Regions from separate parts of the Homo sapiens genome. Here region 2 is linked to region 1. Evidence: promoter capture Hi-C in 16 types of primary human blood cells and fetal thymus (Javierre and others, 2016). All regions are on one chromosome and are shown on one strand. The core of a region is centred on a gene start or on the middle of the fragment in contact, and the rest is flanking DNA. Distances in the headings are between cores, read along the strand shown. Region 1 holds the start of CTRC (chymotrypsin C). Region 2 holds the start of LOC124903851 (a long non-coding RNA gene).

Region 1 (7,333 bases), core at 3,510-6,009:
GGGGCTGGTGCCAGCCATGCACGTGCCCAGAGGCAGCTCCTACGCCTGTCCACCTTTTCCAGCAAGAACAAATTTCTCCTGGCTGCCCTGGGACAAAGCTAAAGGCACCTCCAGGGCCTGGAGAGGGTGCTCAGGGAGAGCCATAGACCATTCCCCAAACTCTCTCTGTCTCAGCCCTTGGGTCGTCTAGAACCTCACGGAAGGAGGGGCCACAGGGCCTGGAGCCCATGACACCTTTAGAGGCCCACAAAATGTTTTGATTTTTTTAAAATCAGTAAGAAAAAAAATGAAAAGGATCCAAACTGGATTATATTCAGTGTTATCACCATACAATAAAACATAATTTTTATTATTTTTTTTAAGGAAACATAATTTTTCATTTTTTTATGTTTTATTTTTTGGAGTTGGGGTCTCTCTATGTCACCCAGGCTAGAATGCAGTAGCATGATCATAGCTTACTGCAGCCTCAAATTCCTGGCCTCAAGTAGTCCTCCCACCTCAGCCTCTAGAGTATCTGGGACTACAGGCATGTGCCACCACACCCAGGTAATTTTTTAAATTCTTTTAGAGTCAGGGGTCTCGCCATGTTGCCCAGGCTGGTCTTGAACTCTTGGCCTCAAGGGATCCTCTCACCTCAGCCTCCTGAGTAGCTGGGATTACAGGCACGAGCCACCATGCCCAGCCAGTTTTTAATATTTTTTAAATGGAGAAAGGGGCCCATGAAGGCAAAAGTACTCAGTGACCAAGTCCAGTCTCAAGCTTTCTCATAAGAACCAGATAACAACAATAATAATAGTAATAGCAAACATTTAGACCGTCCTTGCCATATGCCAGGCACTTCTTCCAACAGCCCTAGGAGGGAGGTACCATTTTCTTTCTTTTTCTTTTTATTTTTTTGAGACGGAGTCTTGCTCAGTCACCCAGGCTGGAGTGCAATGGCACGACCTCGGCTCACTGCAACCTCCGCCTCCCGGGTTCAGGCAATTCTCCTGCCTCAGCCTCCCGAGTAGCTGGGATTATAGGCACCCACCATCATGCCCGGCTAATTTTTGTATTTTTGTACAGACAGGGTTTCACCATGTTGGCCAGGCTGGTCTTGAACTCCCGACCTCAGGTGATCTGCCCACCTCAGCCTCCCAGAGTGCTGGGATTACAGGCATGAGCCACCGTGCCCGGCCAAAGGTACCGTTTTCACTCTCACTTTATAAACGAGGAAGCACAGAGAGGTTGCGTCACAAGCATAAGGCCATAGAGCTATGAAGCAATAGTGGTGGGTTTAGTTCAACCCTAAGCAAAGCACTCAACATCCTGTCTTCAGCATCTGAAACAGATTAAGGGCGACCTCGGTTTTCTCCAGGGACAATTGTTTGGTGCTGCCTTACATAAAAGGTCCCTCCCTGTAGATGTCTCAAAACAAGCAAGTTTCCCTATAGCTGAGCAGCCAGCAACCTCCCTCCAAAAAGGTCAGTTTCTCTGTGAACCTTCAAAGAGCTGACAATAACTCTCTTCACCTGGGACCTCATCATCAATCCATTTGGCTATTTCTATGTTTGTGTACATGTTTGAATGGGTGGCCCATGGCTCTGCTTGGCTCTACACATAACCGAATGCTTTATATGTATTATATCATTGGTGTGTGCATATTTGTGGACGTGGAGGAGCGTGTGTGTGCATGTGTGTGTGTGCGTGTGTGCATGTGTGCATATGTGTGTGTATGTTTGTGTGTGCATGTGTGCGCGTGGGTGTGTGCATTGTGTGCATGTGTGTGTGCGTGTGTGTCCATGTGTTTGTGTGCGTGTGTGCATGTGTGCATGTGTGTGCATGTGTGTGTGCATGTGTGTGTGCGTGTGTGTGTATGTGCGTGTGTGCGTCGCCTGTCCACGTATACTTGTGAATCCATGGGCATGTATACACAGCTGAGATGCGTGCTAACAAGTTGCTGTATCTCTGAGTATAAATTGATGAGCTCCTACAAGGAGACGCCCAGTTAATTCATTTTCCCAAGTTGATCAAGGGACATGAGAGAAACTGAGGCTCAAAGAGGTTGCTCAGGGTCTGGGTCATCCATTCTGTCACTGAGATGGAAACCAGGTGTCCTGTCTCCCCGCTTCAGACCCTGCTAATTTCCAAGACCTATCACCTAGCTCAAGCCATATCTCTGCTTATGTTCCCAGTTTCCAGGCTAGAATGACCCTTTGCAAGGCTTGGCAACCAAAAGCCCTGGGTCTGAAGCAGACTGGCCAGTAGCCACTGATAAACCTGTATCATGCACAACCAACCTCCAAAATGAAACAGAAAATTCCCCGCAGGCTGAAGTCCCCAGACACCCCAGGACTGAGGCCTTGATGTCACCATAGCTGAGCAGAGCCCCCAGTGCACATTCCCACTTTTATCTTTCTTAAAAAATTAAACCTATTGATTTTTATACTACCAAGGTAACTATGTTTGTTTTAAAAAAGAATTTAAGCTGCATAAAAATGTGTAGTTAGAGGCCAGGCATGGTGGCTCACACCTGTAATCCTAGCACTTTGGGAGGCCTATGTGAGTGGATCACTTGAGGTCAGGAGTTCGAGACCAGCCTGGCCAACGTGGTGAAACCCCGTCTCTACAAAAGGAACAAAAATTAGCCAGTGGCACTGGTCCCGGCTACTCAGGAGACTAAGTAAGGTAGGAGAATTGCTTGAACCTGGGAGGCAGAGGTTGCAGTGAGCCAAGATCGCACCACTGCACTCCAGCCTGGGCGACAGAGCGAGACTCCAACTCCATCTCAAAAAATAAATAAATAAATAAACAAACCAGCCTGGCCAACATGGTGAAATCCGGTCTCCACTAAAAATACAAAAATTAGCCGGGCATGGTGGTGGACATCTATAATCCCAGCTACTCGCGAGGCTGAGGAAGCAGAATTGCTTGAACCCAGGGGTGGAGGTTGCAGTGAGCTGAGATCGCACCACTGCACTCCAGCCTGGGCCACAGAGCAAGACTCTCAAAAAAAAAAAGTGTAAGTTAGAATCCTCCTTCACCCCCAGATCACCGCTATGAATGGCGGGGTGCGTAGTGCTCTGAACTTTTCTATCAGGAAGGAATTCCTAAGGTGGCCAGTAGGCCCAGCTCAGAAAATGACCTTCAAGGGGAGCTCAGTATGAGTAGAGGGGAAACGAAAGACAGAATCTAACCAACCAGGCTGAGGCCAGGCCTTGGGGCGAATGGATCAAACCACATGTTCCAAGGGATGGCCAACCCCGAATGCCGGAGGCTCTGGTAGAATTTCTGCTACTCAGTGCTTTGGGCCCTCAGATCTGCCACTGACCTTGACATTCAAGTTACAGAATTGTAGAACTGAAAGGAGCCTGAAAGTCCATCTGGTCCTTTTGCCCATTTTAGAGATGGGGAAACTGAGGACCTACAACTAAGCTGACTCCAGGAAGGAATCTGGCCAACTAAGCACCTTCCAGAGCCTGCTGCATCCCTGCCTCCAACCACAGCCCTGGAGGCAGGTGCAGGAGTGCATCAAGCCCAGGCAATTAGAAAGATGAGACAGAGAGAGAGCCAGGAAGCGATCCAATAGCACTAGAAAGGCAGAGAAGGAGCAGCATGTCTCCACAGCTTGAAGCCCCAGGCTGGTGTTAGAAGCTTTGGCTTCAAAGTCTGGCTCTGCTGCTGCCCAGCCGTGTGACCCTAGATGGTCACTTACCCGCTGAGTCTCAGCTTCCTCACTTTTATTTTATTTTTTTAGAGACAAGGTCTTGTTCTGTCACCCGCGCTGGAATGCAGTGTGGCACGATCACGGCTCACTGCAGCCTCGAACTCCTGGGCTCAAGCGATCCTCCTACCTTGGCCTCAGGAGTAGCTGGGACTACAGGCATGCACCACTGCGCCTGGTCCTTTCTCATCTCACCTCAGAGCAGATAACCGCGTCTATTTCATGTTGTTGGAAGAATTAAGTGAGATAATGCAAGAAGAATTGAGCGCAATGCCTGACACACAGTAGGTGCCCAATAAATAACTAAAAAGAATAAGGTAACGGCCTGTAATCACACCTGTAATCCTAGCACTTTGGGAGGCTGAGGTAGGCAGATTGCCTAAGCTCAGGAGTTCAAGACCACCCTAGGCAACAGGGTGAAACCCTGTCTCTACTAAAATACAAAAAAAAAAAAAAAAAAAAAATGGTGGCACACATCTGTAGTCCCAGCTACTTGGGAGGCTGAGACAGGAGAATCGCTTGAACTCGGGAGGCGGAGGTTGTAGTGAGCTGAGACTCCAGCCTGGGTGACAGAGCAAGATCCTGTCTCAAAAAAATAAATAAAATACAAAAGATTAACCTGGCGTGGTGGCAGGCGCCTGTAGTCCCAGCTACACAGGGGGCTAAGGCACGAGAATCGTTTGAGCCCGGGAGGTGGAGGTTGCAGTGAGCTGAGACTGTGCCACTGCATTTCAGCCTGGGCAACAGAGCAAGACTCCATCTCCAAATAAATAAATAAATAGTATAAGGTAGGGAGAGAGAATGAACACACACGTCAAACAGAGTGGGGTGGGGGATGCCAAAAAGCACTGCAACTCAGAATTTTCTGTTTCAGGATATTTGGAAAATCCATACTTCTAAGAAAGCCCTGTCTCCTGCCCAAATTAAACAGTAACCACCCAAGGTCAGGGAAAGGGCCTTATCAGAGCAGGTTTCTCTCCAAGGGGCGGTTTGGCCTTGACCAGGTGCACTCACCTGCTCCTGCCTATAAGTGTGCCCCAGCCCATCCCGATGGTCAGCCAGTCCTGAGCACCTAACCATGTTGGGCATCACTGTCCTCGCTGCGCTCTTGGCCTGTGGTAAGCGGTGGGGTGGGGCTGCAGCTAGCAGGCTGTGAGCTCGGGCTGGCCTCCAGGGCAAGGACGGGATGGGGAGTGGGGGGGCCTCTGCTCTCCAGGTAAGACACTTTGGGGTCCCCTGTGGGTTCAGATGCTACCAACCAGCTGTGTGTCAGACAAGCCACAGCCTGCCTGCCAACTCTGTTTCCACATCTGCAAAACAGGGAAGATGATCTGACGTGTCCCCAGTTAGAAATGAGGTGTGGAAAGCACCACGCAAGGGGGAGGGACACGAGATGCCTCATCCTGGGTTCACCCCAGGGACCATCGGGGTCTGCCTTTCCCAGCATTCTCTCTCCCTTGAGGATTCTCCATTCCATCATTTTGGTGGCGTTTTCCCAGATTAGGAGCCCAGGGACTTAGCTTAAATGCCACTTCTTCTCTGCAGGACCTGGAAAAGTCATTTCACCTCTCTAAATCTCACTAACTTTTTTGGCAAAGGAGAGCACTTAATGAAGAGTCCTTCCAGCTAACAACAACAACAGTAATAATAGCAGCTCCTGTTTCCTGTGTGTTTACTATGTGCCAGACGCTATGCTAGGCCCCTTACATGTAGGAGCCAATTTAATCCTCAAAACAACCTTAAGAGGTAGGGTCTATTGCCAGGCATGGTGGCTCACGCCTGTAATCCCAGCACTTTGGGAGGCCGAGGTGGGTGGATCACTTGAGATCAGGAGTTTGAGACCAGTCTGGCCAACAAGATGAAACCCCGTTTCTACTAAAAATACAAAAATTAGCCAGGCGTGGTGGCGGGCACCTGTAATCCCAACTACTCAGAAGGCTGAGGCAGGAGAATTGCTTGAACCCAGGAGGAGGTTGCAGTGAGCCGAGATCGCGCCATCAAACTCCAGCCTGGGCAACAAGAGTGAAACTCCGTCTCAAAAAAAAAAAAAAAAGAAAAAGAAAGAAAAAGAGGTAGGGTCTTTTCATAGCCCCATTTTACAGATGAGGACATCGAGGTTCCGTGCGACTTAGTATCTTGCCTGACATCACATGGCAGGTTAGTGGAAGAGGCAGAATTTGAGTCCACGTCTGTCTCGCGGAACAGCACGTGTTCTTGACCGCTCCACACAGCTTCCCAGCTATAACAGTGGATTTACTGCTCTCTCACACACACACCATGATGCAGGGGCCTAAAAACAGACAGAAGAACACAGGTGTACCGGGCACTCGCACACATGCCAGCCAGTTTTGTTTTGTTTTGTTTTGTTTTTTGAGATGGAGTTTTGCTCTTATCACCCAGGATGGAGTGCAATGGCACGATCTCGGCTCACTGCAACCTCCATCTCCCAGGCTCAAGCGATTCTCCTGCCTCAGCCTCCTGAGTGGCTGGGATTACAGGCATGCACCACCACGCCTGGCTAATTTCTGTATTTTTAGTAGAGACAGGGTTTCGCCATGTTGGCCAGGCTGGTGTCAAACCCCTGATCTCAAGCGATCCACCCGCCTTGGCCACCCAAAGTGCTGGGATTACAGGTGTGAGCCACCGTGCCCGGCCAAACGCTTTCTTTTTTATGTGTTGTCTAATTCAGTTCTCAGGGCAAACTCACCGCATTAGTGTGATTCTTCACATTTCACAGAAAGGGAAAACAAGGCCTAGAGACCTGGGTGGCTTACCCCCGTGACACAGTAAAATATCAACCCCGTGTCTGCCCAGCCCCAACTCTGTGCTTCTTCCACCTGCCCACCCTCCCACCCCTTTCCCCGTGGGCTACCAGCCCTATTCACTGGTTCTTCTGGCCTCCTGTCTCCCCAGCCTCCAGCTGTGGGGTGCCCAGCTTCCCGCCCAACCTATCCGCCCGAGTGGTGGGAGGAGAGGATGCCCGGCCCCACAGCTGGCCCTGGCAGGTAAGCCTGTGTAGGGCTGGGAGGTACAGATAGAGAGGGTGGCGGGGTGAGGGTCCCAGGGACCTGCAGGCTGACACACAGCCCTCCCCACCCTCCTGCAGATCTCCCTCCAGTACCTCAAGAACGACACGTGGAGGCATACGTGTGGCGGGACTTTGATTGCTAGCAACTTCGTCCTCACTGCCGCCCACTGCATCAGGTGTGCGGGGATGATACCCTGAGACCTGGCCATCGTCCGGGGGCGGAAGCCTGATACTCTGCTTTTTCTGAGCAGCTTCTCCGCACTCCAGGCACTGGGCTACATAATCTACTCACACCCAGTAACTCAGTTGTGCATTTAGTCAGTCAAGTATTCATTGTGCATCTATTATGTGCCAGGAACCAGCAGTGAAGACAAAGTCTGTGCTCTCGGGAAGCTTATATTTTTGTGGAAGACAGAGCGGCAGACAATTAAACAAATATATAGCATCTCAGGTGATTTAAAATAATACTAATAATAAGGTATTGGCCAGGAGCAGTGGCTCACGCCTGTAATCATAGCACTCTGGGAGGCCGACGCAGGCGGATCACCTGAGGTCAGGAGTTCGAGACCAGCCTGGTCAACATAGTGAAACCCCGTCTCTAC
Region 2 (7,333 bases), core at 4,834-7,333, 98 kb before region 1:
TGTCATCGGCTCAGGCAGTGACAGAGCTAAGAGTTGTCTTTCCCTAAGCTAAACCGCATCTGATTCCTACCCTGAGCCATAACCACAGAAAGCCCCATTTGTATCACAGTGATGTTCCAAGCTGGGACTCTGGGTACCACTGCCAAGGCTTGAATTTCAGCTGTGCACCTACTAGCTGTGTGGGCAGTTACGTGACGTGGCTGCGCCTCCATTTACTTGCTCGTGAAATGGCCATCCAGTCTCCTAGCGGCATATGAGGACTGAGTGATGGGATACATGCATGGCAGTGCTGGTCACAGTTAGCTCGTAATCGGTGGGGGCTGCTGTCATCGTCAGCCTCAAATACTGGTTGACTTCATCTGACCTAAACATGGGTAGCCACCAGGCAGGTAGGCATGTGGACCGCATAGCCTGGTTTACTTGCACCCAGGTAACATCCTCTGGAGCCTCTGCCCTGTCTCCATTTAGCAGCAAATGGGGTTTCTTTAGCCCTAAGCCCTCAGTTGGGTTGAAGCCAAGAGCCCTTTCTAGAGGCCTCCTCCTTAGAATCTGACAGTGGGCCTCGGGTCCCGGCTGCCAAGTGGCCAAGCTGCAACTCAGTCCACGCCCCTCCAACCTCAAACTCCCTGCTCTTGACCACCAGGCTACCTGCCTTTTAGAACATCCTCCTAAGAGATAAAACACGCGTCACAAACTAGGATGGAAATCCTGAAACGAATCCCCCAGGGGAATCCAGGCGGGGTAAACGTCAGGGAAATGACTTGTGGTGTTGTTGGGAGATGTCACGTGCAGCCCACAAGGTGAGGCCTGCTGGGGTCCAGTGTGTTCGGAAGGGTGGAGGATTTGCTGTGTGGTTCAGCTGGGAGGATAAGAATGTTTAGGCGGCACCTTGAAAGTCAGCTGAATACTCCTCCTGCCTGGTTTCTCAGGGTTCCTCTGATAAGGGAAGGAAAGGATTTTTTACATTTTTCTCTGCAAGCTCCGTCGTTTGTGTCTATTTCTGCAAGACTTTGTTACAAATAAAAGACTCTTCTTGCATGCATGGCAAATCACTCAACTATCCAAGATACACTGTGTCTTTAACTGAAAAGAAAGCAAGTTGCAATACAATATGCTTGGTGTGCTTTTTTTTTTTTTAAATGTCAGTATCTGAGCAAAAGAACAACCTTGAGAAAAAGACATCAAACTGTTAGGAGTATTATCCCAGCAGGGTGGGATTGCACTGGACCTTGACTTCCATTCAGTTGTTCAACAACTGTTCATTGAGGGCCCCTGTGTGCCAGCCACTGTGCAGAACATGAAGACGCAGTGGCAAACACTTCCCACATTATGAATTTCTGTAACATTTGGGTTTTTATAACCAACATTTATAACTTTTGTAAACAGAAGTATAAGAAAGACTTGTTCCTTCCCCCAAAGAGCAAAATCCCCATTATGATTACAGTTAGTCATCTAATCTAGAAATAGAAATGTGATCAAATACTGGCCTCCCCTTCAGCATCCTCAGCTACCTCTCCCCTTAGTCCTCCTCAGATCCCAACCATGATTTCATCCTTCCCCTTTGATTCCTGGGTCACACGTTGCAGCCGAGCAAAATCCCAGACTCATCCCAACAGAGCCTCCACAAATCCCTGTATTCACCAGGTCCAGTGGGCCAAGCCAATGTCAGCCCGGCCATCTCACCTCCTCCGCCATCTTGGTATCCTTGCAATGCACCTCTCCAACGCACCAACCCAACCCTGTACTCTCAAGCCTCCAAACCCTTTGAAAAGAGATTGACAGATCTAGGTCTGAATTCTGATTCTAACACTTACCAGCTCTGTAGCTTAACCTTGGGGAGCTTCTGTCGTTTCACCTATAAATATGAACATACTTCCTTACCAGGTTGTTTATAATGATTAGAAAAACGTATCAAACTCTTGGCATAGCACTGGCACGCACCAGGTCTGCTATTATTATAATATTGCTGTTCTCACGCTTCTGTGCTGGAAATCCTCCGAATGGTGCATTGCCCCACACAAGAACATGTTCTCCTCACTTCCTTTTTCTCTCTTGGCCCACCTTTTATTCCTTCCCTCCATTATCCCCACTAGGTCTTCCTCCTACATGCAGCACGTACCCTGCCCTGTCTCCCCTTTCCTCTCCTTCCCAGGGACCTTGTGCACAAATTCTTCTTTCTTTGGCGTCAGCGGCCTTTCTTTTCCTCTTAGTTCCTTCCCTTTGCCATCAAAGGGGCACTTCAAGATGGCTGTACCATCCTGAAAAAAATCATTCTTCTCTGGAATCCATCGCTTCTTTCGCTCCTTTTCAATTGCTCTTACTCCTGTCTTCACCTGTGATCTTTAAGAAGCGTGTTGCACCCTCGGTCTTCATTGCCAGCTTCTTGGCCTTTCTGCCAAGTAACTGACACGGGCCCCCTGCAGCACTGACTAGGCCACCACCCTCTCGGGGACTGTGTCTCTGACCTGCCCAACGCTCTTCATTCTCTTTTTTGAAACCCTTTAGGCGCTCTGCTTCCCTCCTGATCTTTTCCATTCATTCCCAGCAGCCCCCTTCACCAACTCCTATCCCTAACGAGGGTGTTTTCTCCTGTGCAGTCAGCCCTTGGTCCACCCCATCTCCTTTCTCATGAAGAAACTCTGCACTTCCGGGCTTCCCCAGCCACTCCTATGTGTTTTCCACACGGACGCCTCTGCAGGAGGGGCTGCCAGGAAAGTGGTGCAGGGAGTCCAGCCAAGGCAGTAGGTGGGGTCCCTGGCCAGGGGCCATGGCCACCAGGAGGAAGGGGGCCTCTTTCTTCATTCACACAAGGACCCTGGATGGGCTGGGCTGGGCCGGCATTACCGATTGGCATGTCCGGCTCTCTGCTGACCCTCCCTCCCCAGAGTCCTGCCAGTGCCTCAAATTCAGCATGTCTGAAACAGCCTGGGGGCTCCTTCTCTCTCCCTGCCACACCCCACCGCAACCCCAACCTGTCTCTCTCCCGTCTGATGACGAGGCCACCATTCTACCCCTTTAAAAGGCTTTCCCTTTCTTCCCTCTCATCCTCACTTCTCCCACCCTCAGTTAGAGGATCAGCACTGAATACCTGGGCGTCTCTCGGGCCCTTAGCGGAGCTCCCTGCCTCTCACTCAGAGGAGGGGAGCTTATCACAGGCAACATCCAGGATCGTCTGGCGACATTTTTGGTTGTCAAAACTGGGGTGGGGTGAGTAGGGGTGCCCCTGGCATCCAGTGGGTAGAGACCAGGAATGCTACTAACCATCCCACAATGCCTAAGACAGCCCCAACAGCAAAGACTTGACAATATCAGCAGTGCAATACCAGCAATACGGCCCGACATAGCAGCAGTGCTCCAGCAAAGAAACCCTGCCAGCTCCAGCCTCTCGAATGCAGCCCAGCTATTTTTCTTTAAAAAAAAAAACAACGCTCTTCATCAGGCCACTTCACTGTTCTGTCAGCCGCTGGAATAGGAGTGACTCAGACCTCGAGTCACACCAATTAGTCTTGGCTCAACCACTGGCCTGCTGTGTGGCGTTGGGCAGGCCTGCGTCTCAGAACGCCACTGCCTCATCTATAAATTGGGGACCCACTGGGCACATTTCAGTCATGTTTAAATCAAGTTTCCTCTCTCAAGCCGACGGTTTCAGGAGTGTCACGGCTTGACCTCACCCTTCCATGCCTCCTCCACTGTCTGCTCCTCCCTCTCCCATCATCTACTCCAGCCCAAGTAAGCTCAGCACTTCCCGGGAGGAGCACTGCCTTTTCCAAATCCCACCCCCACCACCCCCACATCCCGGTGTGAAACTGTGGCTTCCTGTGACTATTGTAACAAATGACCACAAGAGACTGGCTTAAAACAACACATTATTCTCTTAGCATTCAGGATTAATTCAGTTTCACTGGGCTAAAGTTCCTTCCGGAGGCTCTAGAGCAGTATCCGTTTCCTGGCCTTCTTCAGCCTCTAGAGCTTCATTCCTTGCATTCCTTGGCTCATGGCCCCTTCCTCCATCTTCAAAGCCAGCGATGTGGCATCTTCCAGTCTCTGCTTCCATCACATCACCTTCCCCTCTGTCTGTGGTCAAGCCTCCGTCTGTCTCCTTATAAGAAGCCATGTGATGACATTGGGTCCACCCAGATAATCCAGGATAACACCCCATCTCGAAATCCTTAACTTAATCGTATTTGCCAAGCTCTTTTTGCCCTGTACGGTCACACCCACAGGTTCCAGGGATTCGGACCTGGAATCGTAGGGGGTCATCATTCAGCCCCGCGCACCCCTGTTCTGAAGCGCCCTCCCCCGGCTCTCTGAATTCTGCCCACCCAACAGCATCCACACCCAGTAGTTCTTCAACCAAGTGGTCTTACTCGCTCACTCCAGGTGAATGATCTCCCCCTCCTCTGACACCCTCACCCTCCCCTCTCCTTCAGCAGTCACTCACATGCCACCTGGGGTCACTGCATGTTTCCAGCAGGCATTTACACCTTGTCTTTCGGACTGAACTGTAAGCCCCTGGAGGTCTTGGCTTTAGACCATCCCCCACACTCAGCACCATGCTTCACACACAGTAGACAGTAAATAGGTGTTCTGTTGATGGGTTGTTTTCCACCTCCAAAAAGAAAGTTGGATGTGAGCTCAACCAAGGCTTATCAACTACTTTATTTTTATTTTTATTTTTTTGAGACTGAGTCTCGCTCTGTCACCTGAGCGGGAATGCAGTGGCACAATCTGGGCTCACTGCAACCTCTGCCTTCCAGTTTCAAGCGATTCTCATGCCTCAGCCTCCCAAGTAGCTGGAATTACAAACATGCGCCACCACACCCAGCTAGTTTTTGTATTTTTAGTGGAGATGGGGTTTTATCACGCTGGCCAGCCAGGCTAGTCTCGAGCTCCTGACCTCAGGTGATCTGCCCATCTCAGCCTCCCAAAGTGCTGGGGTTACAGGTGTGAACCTCCATGCCCAGCCTAAGCCACCGTGCCCGGCTGCTTATCAACTACTTTAAAACCACAGGTTGGATGGCAGCTCACGTTGTTTTGATGGGATGGCAACGTTGCTTTCATCCACCTGTCTGCAAGCTTTGGAGTTGAATTGATACTTACATTCTTCCTGCTTCTCTTTTTTTAAGGGTTCTCTTTGTATCTGATATATCTTCTGGAACATTATAAAAAACTTATGAGCCAGGCCCAGGAACTTCAGGTAATTCTTTTAATTTCTTTTTTTCCAAAGTTCATTTCGGCCCCTGGTTGGCATTTATATAGCACTGTGCATTTGAAACCTGTTTTTTCTTTATCAGCTAGTCCAGTCCACACCCTCCAATAGGTGAAATGATTTCTTCATTTGCACACAAAGAGGTACAGAAAAGGTTGGCTAAGATCTCCCAGGAGGGTAAGGACAATGACAGGGTGCTGCCCTCTGGCCTCCTGGGCCAACCACACTGTTTGTTTTCCTCTGTCAAAGGCCCAGAAGACTTAATGCCATCAGATTTTTTTTTTTTGAGTCTCGCTCTGTTGCCCAGACTGGAGTACAGTGGTGCAATCTCGGCTCATTGCAACCTCTGCCTCCCGGGTTCAAGTGATTCTCCTGCTTCAGCTTTCTGAGTAGCTGGGATTACAGGCGCCTGCCACCATGTGTTGCTAATTTTTGTATTTTTAGTAGAGACAGGGTTTCATTATGTTGGCCAGGCTGGTCTTGAACTCCTGACCTCAAGTGATCCACCCACCTCAGCTTCCCAAAGTGCTGGGATTACAGGCGTGAGCCACTGCACCAGCCTTAATGCCATCAGATTTTGAAAACTGTGTTTACTAAATCCAGTGGACAAAGTACAGCTATCTATAGCACAGGCAGCAGAATTACTAAAAGAAAAGAAATATTCTAGAGGCAAATGAGCTTTACGGGTTATATCATTCTGATAGCTATTGCCATAATAGTATTATATAATAAACAACCACAAAACTTCAGCGGCATTCAGCAATTGCTATTTACTCCTCACGTGTCTGGGGTCAGTGGCAAGGCGGCTCTGCTGACCTTGGATGGGCCCACCCACTTGTCTGGGTGTTAGCTGGCCTTTGGTTGATCTAGACTGGCCTCAGCTGGAGTGACTCAGCTCCCTGTGTCTCTCATCCCCCAGCAAGCAAGCCTAGGCTGTTCTCATGGAGACTACGAGGTATAAAAGAAAGTGGCCCAATCACATAGTGTTTTTCAACCTTCTGCTTGTGTTATGTCTGCTAAGATCCCATTGGCCAGAACAAGTCACATGGCTGAGTTCAGTGTCTGGAGGCAAAATATGGGCGGGCACTGCAAGTTACATAGCCCTAGACATGGATAGAGTGGGGTAAAGAAGGGACCACCATGCCAATCAGCCACAGAGGCTTGAGTCCAGGGATTGGCAACTTTCTCTGTAAAGGGCCAGATGGTAAATATTTTATGCTTTGCAGACCATATTCATACCTCTTCCACTCTGCTATGGTAAAATGAAAGTAGCCATAGACAATATGTAAGCAATGGACATGATAAGCATGGCACTGTTCCAATAAAACTTTATTTACGGCGGGCACGGTGGCTCATGCCTGTAATCCCAGCGCTTTGGGAGGCTGAGGCGGGTGGATCACCTGAGGTCAGGAGTTCGAGACCAGCCTGGCCAACATGGTAAAACCCCATCTCTACTAAAAATACCAAAATTAGCCAGGTGTGGTGGTGGGCACCTGTAATCTCAGCCACTCAGGAGGCTGAGGCAGGAGAATCACTTGAACCCGGGAGGCAGAGGTTGCGGGGAACCAAGATTGTGCCCCTGCACTGCAGCCTGGGCGACAGAGCAAGACACCATCTCAAAAAAAACAAAACAAAACAAAAACACCACCTTATTTACAAAAGTATGCAGTGGGCCCGATTTGGCCTGTGGGCTGTAGTTTGTCAACCCCTGGTCTAGTCCCTTCTCCTTATTTTTCAGATAAGGACAATTTCAGTGTCACACAGCTAATGGGTGAAGAATCAAGACAAATGTTCAAGCGTCCTGGCTCCTACATGACTGCTTTTTTTCCTCACACCCACCTACCACTTACTGAACACCTACTATGTGCTCAGCACTGTGCTAAAAGCTTTCCATCATTATCTCACTTAATCCTCACAACTCTAAAAGATCAATACTGTTATTAACTTCATTTTCTAAATGAGGAAGCATCTAGAAACAACTAGAGCTGGGATTCTTTCTAGATCCAGAGTCTGAATTCTTAACCACAGCATGCTGTAGTGTTCTGTGATTTTAAGAAACTTTTGGGTAAACCTTTGTACCCAGAAAGGTAAACAATTGGTAAACAAATGGGGAAAGACTCTTTA

What was found. Contacts are between HindIII fragments. The CHiCAGO score rates a contact against its expected background, and 5 or more counts as called.
Region 2: a fragment that was not itself captured here is called in contact with the fragment with the promoter of CTRC in region 1 in 3 of 17 cell types (neutrophils, monocytes and total B cells); the score reaches 6.0 in neutrophils.

Annotation. Positions count from the first base shown.
Region 1 is chr1:15,433,684-15,441,016 of GRCh38, forward strand. CTRC (chymotrypsin C) reads left to right here and starts at 4,760. Exons shown (of 8, transcript NM_007272.3): 1 at 4,760-4,821; 2 at 6,617-6,708; 3 at 6,810-6,907. The coding sequence starts at 4,782. RefSeq lists an enhancer at 1-489. The HindIII fragment of the contact is 3,491 bases long and covers 3,632-7,122 here.
Region 2 is chr1:15,334,355-15,341,687 of GRCh38, forward strand. FHAD1 (forkhead associated phosphopeptide binding domain 1) reads left to right here. Exons shown (of 34, transcript NM_001391957.1): 15 at 5,127-5,197. All of the region lies in intron 1 of FHAD1-AS1 (FHAD1 antisense RNA 1), which reads right to left. LOC124903851 (a long non-coding RNA gene) reads right to left here and starts at 6,572. Exons shown (of 3, transcript XR_007065480.1): 1 at 6,026-6,572; 2 at 4,442-4,609; 3 at 170-4,099. The HindIII fragment of the contact is 2,019 bases long and covers 5,075-7,093 here.